Regions from separate parts of the Homo sapiens genome. Here region 2 is linked to region 1. Evidence: promoter capture Hi-C in 16 types of primary human blood cells and fetal thymus (Javierre and others, 2016). All regions are on one chromosome and are shown on one strand. The core of a region is centred on a gene start or on the middle of the fragment in contact, and the rest is flanking DNA. Distances in the headings are between cores, read along the strand shown.

Region 1 (3,600 bases), core at 294-2,793:
GACAAATAATTCGGCCGGGCACAGTGGCTCACATCTAACCCCAGCACTTTGGGAGGCTGAGGTGGGCGGATCACGAGATCAGTAGATCAAGACCATCCTTGCTAACACGGTGAAACCCCGTCTCTACTAAAAAATACAAAAAATTAGTCGGGCGTGGTGGCACACACCTGTAGTCCCAGTTACTTGGGAGGCTGAAGCAGGAGAATTGCTTGAACCCGGGAGGCAGAGACTGCAGTAAGCCGAGATCACGCCACTGCACTCCAGCCTGGGTGACAGAGCGAGACTCCGTCTCAAAATAATAATAATTCAACACAGGGTCTCATTCTGTTGCTCAGGCTGGAGTGCAGTGGCATGGTAACAGCTCACTGCAGCCTCAACCTCCTGGGCTGAGGTGATCCTCCCACCTCAGCCTCCTGAGTAGCTAGGACTATAGGTGCACACCACCACACCTGGCTAATTAAAATTTATTTATTTATTTAGTAAATAGAGATGAGGTCTTGCTATGTTGCCCAGGCTGGTCTCGAACTCCTAAGCAGCATCATTTTTTCTAGGTGTTAAACTGACAACCACCCAAATTCCCAGCATAAGGATTCTGCTTAAAATATCTAGCTCTCTGATGAAATATCTTCAAAGAATATTTAATGACCTTAAATCTCAGACAAAAAGGTAAGGAGACAAAATGAGGAACCCATTTCCGTACAACCCCAATTTGGAAAAACACATGTGCAAGTATGCCCATGTTAAAAAATATAGAAGAAAAAAAGGCTTTAAGGAAAAAAAAAATAATAGTAATGATTTAGGGTGGGAATCGCGTTAATATTCCCAATAATTTTATATATTTTAAAAATCTATAATTTTATCAGGGGAAAACGTTATGTTGCGGAAATTAATTGATCGATTGAGTGATTGGTTAACGGACAGTGTCCGATGACTCATATAATCCCCCGGTTCGAGTCCCTTTAGGCCGCAGACGTTTCGCGCCTTCTCGGGTGTCCAAGTCGCGCATCCATACAATGAGGGGTAATATACTAGATTACCTGAGGTCTTCTTACGGTAAAAACACCGGTGTCTTAAGGTTTCCCAGTGGAATTTGGGGGCCGGGTTGACTTCGGAGCTGGAGCTCGCAAAGGCCGGGGCTGCTGCAGATTCTGACGCTTTGTGGACCCCTACTACCGAGCGCAGCCGCACCGCAGGTTTTCTTCGCTGCTGGTTAGATCCAAAGCCCATCCCATCCTAGTAAACTGGGACAGCGCCGCTTCTCACATCACTATGGGGGCTTCTGCTCCGTGGCGGGGAAAGGCCAGAACTGCTGCCTTAAATACGCTTTTGCATCATCCGGTTGCTAACCTCCGGCCACAGCATTCCCCACTCCAAAATGCCACTTTTCCAGGTGTGTTTGCCTAAATTTACCCCATTTACAGACTTCTCAGGTGCATCATTGGGAACAGGGCGCTTTGCAGTTTGCAAACCACCTCAGACAACTCCAGGTTTAAAGGATAAAGGATGACATTGTGAGCAAAGCGGCATCAAAATTTCAGATATTTAACTTTCACATTCTAACCATACACCTTTCCAAGGTCTTGTAATACTTTCACATTGTGAATATACATCTTTACAAGACCCAGTAGTACATGGGTCAAGTGTGGCAAAACAGACATCGCGAGCCAGCCAGGAGTCGAACCTAGAATCTTCTGATCCGTAGTCAGACGCGTTATCCATTGCGCCACTGGCCCCGACTTGCTAAAGCCTTCTCCGTGATAGCTGATCACCCTTATACAGTTTGAACGGGCTTCCGGGTACCAACGATCCATTTTGCCCTTGCGCCGCGCTCCCGCTGCTCTGCCTTTCCCCAAAACGCGCCCCACCAATCCGCAGCGGCTTCGTCACGGCGCTCTTCGTCGCACTCCAACCCGCCGCGTCGGCGGCATCTCTCGCGTGCTCTTGCTTGCGCACTAATTTGTCCTCCACCGCCTCCCGTTCAGGCCGGCTCTCCTGCGGGGCGGGGAAAGGGGTGGGAAGAGGCTGGGAGCTGCGGCCGCTGTGCCAGGGTGACCGGTAGAGTTGTAGCCGAGGTGGCGGCGCGGGGCGGGGCGGGCGGAGAGAGAAGGAAGGAGGTGGTTGTGCAGGATGGCGACGGCGGCCTACGAGCAGCTGAAGCTGTGAGTCCCACGGGCCAGAGGCCTGAGGCGCGGCGGGCGGGGCGGCAGGTGCGGGCCCTGGCCTCGGGGAGGGCTTCTGAGTCCCGGATTGCAGATAGGGTGTGGGAGCTCCTCGCATTTACCGGTTTTCCTCAGCCGGCGCGGCCTCTCCTAGGCCTCGCCCGAGTAGCCATAGGCCGGGAACCAGCGGCTCGCCGGCCTTTCTCCACCGTGCTCGGCCCCAGCGCCCACGGCTGAAGAGAGAAGCTGCCGACTGGCCCCCACCGAGCCGGGGTCGGCGTTATGATGCGGCCCTTCAGGGCACGCTTGTCCCCACTTTCTATGCAGAGCTACCGACTAAATTTATCTGTATGACTTAACAGAGAAAAAGAGTTTTCTCTTACTTAACGGACCTACAGCAGCAATTTAGAGTCTACGCACAAATCAACAAATCTTTGTTTTGCTTACAGCCTATCTGGGTACCGAAGCCTGCCTGCCCCCTCTTCAGTGTGCAGAAAAAATTTAAAGTACAGTCAGTAGTCTTAAGGTCCTGAAGGAGTTTACTTTGGTTTAAATTTTAAACAGCTCCAGCCTAAAGCAGGTTCTTAAGTCAGTGTCGACAGCCAGAGGCTAATCTCGGTAATTTTGGTACTGCAAATTGACTTTTCGGTAAATCCAAGTTCTTGAGTCTTTGATACAGAGGCTGTGGTTGTTAAGAGTTATAAAATAGGTGTTTTTAAGGGTTTTGGTTTGTCTTGGATTAAAAACAACATGTGTTTATTTCCCTTAGTGTTACCCATTAGCATCCACACTTTTCTTGTCTGTGAATAATTTTGTTGTACTCACTTCGTGTTTAATGCTTTACCCCTAGGCTGTTTGAAAATCTGGTGGCCACAGCCTGGGAATATCTGGTAGGAGAAACAAATGTAATTTTTTAGAAGCTTATCTATCCCTGTATATGAGCTAAAATACCTTGGCAGTTAGGCATAGATACCGCATTTCTTTTGCAGGGAAATGACACCAAAATGTGGTTTGGGCACTTAAGCTCCTCAGACCTCAACCTCACTAGTAACTTTCTGAAAGGTTCAGTGGAAAGTTAGAGGTGCAAAATTCAGAGAGGTCATCTATTCCACATTGTATGTGTTGCAAAAAAGATGATTGCTTTTTCTACAGTGCACCCCCTGTGGGTGCCATTTCTGTTTACTGTAATGTTCTTTGAAAACCCTAGCTGCACACTTCCCTCCACATTTTCCTCTCCACCTTTCCCTATTTTCTCCCAGTTCCCCTTTGCAAAGTGCTCACCTCGTCTTTGGTGAAAGAGTTGAAGGAAGTGTCTTCCACTGCGTTTCTGGCCAGGCCACTGTCACATGTGCTCTGCTAGCTAATTAGGTTATTGTGTATCTGATAGGCACTGAAGGGTTTAATGTGATCCTACACCAGGTCTCAAATGTGTTTAAGCCAT
Region 2 (3,602 bases), core at 62-2,561, 640 kb before region 1:
TAGCTGGGATTACAGGCATGCGCCACCATGCCTGGCTAATTTTGTATTTTTAGTAGAGGCGGGTTTTCTCCATGTTGGTCAGGCTAGTCTTGAACTCCCGACCTTAGGTGATCTGCCCGGCTCGGCCTCCCAAACTGCTGGGATTACAGGCATGAGCCACCGTGCCTGGCCTCCAGTCAGCTTCCTTTAAGGAGTGTTCTCTTTTCCTTATATCTATCGCATAGGCCAGAACTTTTTCCAGTGTGTAGCTGTAAGGAAGGCTGAGAAGTGCAATCTTTTAAGTAGTTACCTTGACACCCAAATTAAATTAAACTCTTTAAGGAAAGGGCAAATGGGAAGCAACTAGAAGTTTGTGTCATGGAGCCATTGCAGACCCAAAGCCTGAATGTTGGAGGGAACTGGAAACTAGGGGGCAGGAGAATTAAAAGATCTTGAAGACTAAATGATGACTCATCCGTCTGGTTCCCAAAAGCTTGCTCCTATGAGTCTTTCAGTAGAGGAAGAATGTTTTCAATTGTGCGGCTGGGTTAAATCCTAGTTCCTTTTCAACAAATTCCTAGTTCCTAAGCATGGCTTTCTCAGCCTTTGCTTTGGAATTAGCCCTCTCAAGAGGCCTCTTCTTAAAGAGCATGAACCTAGGAGAGTGCTATGCCCCTAAGTAGCTTCCTACCTGCCTATTCCTGCATGGTAGGATCATTGATTGCTGGCTCTGTGACTCTGTGGCAGAGCTTGACTAAACTTTGCACAGCTTTTTTATTCTCCCACTCCCTTGGAGAGTTAGTTGCACCCTTTTACCAGTCATGTCCCAGTAGGAAACAGATTCCAACTCAGTTCAAAAGACTGTAATGAGGCCGGGCCTGGTGGCTTAAGCCTGTAATCCCAGCACTTTGGGAGGACAAGGTGGGCAGATCACCTGAGGTCAGGAGTTTGTGACAAGCCTGGCCAACATGCTGAAACCCCATCTTTACTAAAAATACAAAAATTAGCTGGGCATGGTGGCACGTACCTGTAATCCCAGCTACTTGGGAGGCTGAGGCAGGAGAATCACTGGGACTCAGGAGACAGAGGTTGCAGTGAGCCGAGATCGCACCACTGCACTCCAGCCTGGGCAACAGAGTGTGATTCTGTCTCAAAAAAAAAAAAAAAGACTGAAAGGATTACAGGCAGTCCTCAATTTATACAGTTCTGATATGCTTAAATATCAATGATCATGTTTTAGTTAAATAACACAGTCCCCCAACCAGATAGTTCAAATTTCAGCTACATTGTTATACTGGTAAAGTATAATTTTATTTTATTTTATTTTTTATTTATTGAGATGGAGTCTTGCTCTGTCATCCAGGCTGGAGTGCAGTGGCATGATCTCGGCTCACTGCAAACTCTGCCTCCTGGGTTCAAGTGATTCTCCAGCCCCAGCCTCCTGAATAGCTGGGACTACAGGCACATGCCACCATACCTGGCTAATTTTTGTATTTTTAGTAGAGATGGGGTTTCACCATGTTGGCCAGGCTGGTCTCAAACTCCTGACCTCAAGTGATGTCCCCCCCTCGGCCTCCCAAAGTGCTGGGATTACAAGTGTGAGCCACTGCACCTGGCCCCTTGCTAAAGTATAATTTCACTGCTAACTCTTCAGGCCACACATCACTAACAGATATGCTGCATGATCAGTGACCCACCACATTGCTTCTTTCAAAGTGTATTGGTGACTGGGCACCATGTGCCTGTTATTCAGCTCATCCACTGGCAGCACAGTGTGTAGTTGTGTTGCACTTTGTCTTCTGGTGAGAAATTCATGTGACAGTTTACAAAAATGGATAATTGAAAGAGGGAACTGACTAATAAAGATAAAAATGCAGCAAAGAAATGCAAAGTGAGAATGATGGAAGTGAGGTTTGTGTAGAATATAAATGGAGTTAGAAAAGAAAAAGCTGACTGTGGGAAGGTGGATGCTGCTGCTGTTTGAAGTTCTGGATATGCAACCAGAGGAACGTAGTGACCGTGAGCTTATCTACATAAATGACAACAGTGCCTGTGGCAAAAAGGATAAAGATGTCCTGGAGGAAATGATGCCAGCAAAAAACCACGAAAAGGAATTCTTAGAGATATTTTGTGACATTGAAAGCAAGAAAGATAAAATGTAAGAACTAATCCAAGCTTGAGAAGGAGGATGACAATTTTCCGGGAATAGAAAAGATACCCACTGAATCGAAATCTATATATAATGGGAAGGAAGTGGCAAGCACTGTCCAAACGGTTCTCGGTAAGATTTTCACAAAGAAAACACTTTAATTTCCAATGTTTCTAATGTTTTCAATTAGTGTATTTAATATCAATTTTTGCGACTTTTTCTCTTACTGACAGTAAGAAAGTTTAATGTTTTGACAAACATTTTTGAAAGGTCAGAGGACAATCGTCCTCTTCCCCATCGATTATTAAGATTGTTTTGCATGGTTTCAGCTTACATGGCCATTTTACAGTCCTAGACTACTGTGCAAAGTGAGTGCTTCCCATACTTACACAGCTCTGGGTACTATTCAGCAAAACGACAAGGGATATTAAGGCATTCAGAGGCTGGCCACAGCGGGAAGTACCCTGTCAGGCAGAAGGCCACAGGAGGAAATAATGCTGCTGGAGCCATAGCCGGTCCACGCAATAAGCGATCTCTCGGTGGAGGACATAGCCATAGACAGAAAATGCAGCAAAGCACACAGAGGAGACTGGGAGGAAAGAGCCCAGCACCTGCCTCTGTACAACCTCTTAACTCTTGCAGGTGCTTTCCACTGGGGGAAGCCAGCTGGAAGCCAGCTAGCCGTGGGTCCGGGCAATGCAGTCTGGTCAGACTCCCAGGGCACAGAGCTGGGTGGAGGTGGATGGAGCCCAACTGGGGGCTTACATACACTTAACATTGTACTTTCTTTCTTTCTTTCTTTTTTTTTTCAGACAGAGTCTCACTCTGTCACCCAGGCTGGAGTGCAATGGTGCAATCTTGGCTCACTGCAACCTCCACCTCCTGGCTTCAAGCAGTTCTCCTGCCTCAGCCTCCTAAGTAGCTGAGATTACAGGCACGGGCCACCACGCCTGGCTAATTTTTGTATTTTTAGTAGAGATAGTGTTTCACTATGTTGTCCAGGCTGGTTTTGAACTGCTGACCTCAGGTGATCCGCCTGCCTCCCAAAGGGCTGGGATTACAGGAGTGAGCCACCGCGCCTGGCCGTACCTTCGTGTTTATGTCCATGTCCTGCAGTTGAGGACAAAGCTATCTGCATCTCTGAGTACCACTGATAAAGACAAAGTAAGCAGAGGTGGAATCCAGGTTTCCATGCTCTCAATGTAGGGCTCCTAACATCTCCAGTGATCCAGCATCCCCTTGGAGCTGCTTACCAGCTTGACTAGGACAACACACAGAGTTAGAGGTCAATGAGGAGGAAAAAAATGTCAACAAAATCTTTCTTCCTGGCCCCCCAAAAGTGTTTTGGGGCTCTAAAATACAAGCATATGCTTCACATGTTTCCAGTGAACATTTTCCATGTCAAATATACCTCTGGCTTTTTTTTCTTTTGTCCTGGCAAGCTGTGTTGCTTCTGGATTTTTAATACTCAAAC

The links. The method cuts DNA at HindIII sites, captures the fragments that hold promoters and counts their contacts. A CHiCAGO score of 5 or more calls a contact.
Region 2: a fragment that was not itself captured here is called in contact with the fragment with the promoter of LIMD1-AS1 in region 1 in 3 of 17 cell types (fetal thymus, erythroblasts and megakaryocytes); the score reaches 9.5 in fetal thymus.

The regions. Positions count from the first base shown.
Region 1 is chr3:45,687,339-45,690,938 of GRCh38, forward strand. It overlaps LIMD1-AS1 (LIMD1 antisense RNA 1), which reads right to left and starts at 1,544. Exons shown (of 3, transcript NR_033947.1): 1 at 1,038-1,544. SACM1L (SAC1 like phosphatidylinositide phosphatase) reads left to right here and starts at 2,058. Exons shown (of 20, transcript NM_014016.5): 1 at 2,058-2,159. The coding sequence starts at 2,128. TRR-ACG2-1 (tRNA-Arg (anticodon ACG) 2-1) reads right to left here and starts at 1,733; the gene lies at 1,661-1,733. RefSeq lists enhancers at 860-929, 1,440-1,489, 1,750-2,039 and a silencer at 2,070-2,249. The HindIII fragment of the contact is 5,339 bases long and covers 1-3,077 here.
Region 2 is chr3:45,043,454-45,047,055 of GRCh38, forward strand. No RefSeq gene overlaps it. Among named protein-coding and RNA genes, the nearest start is that of CLEC3B, 19 kb to the left of the region's middle. The HindIII fragment of the contact is 1,682 bases long and covers 471-2,152 here.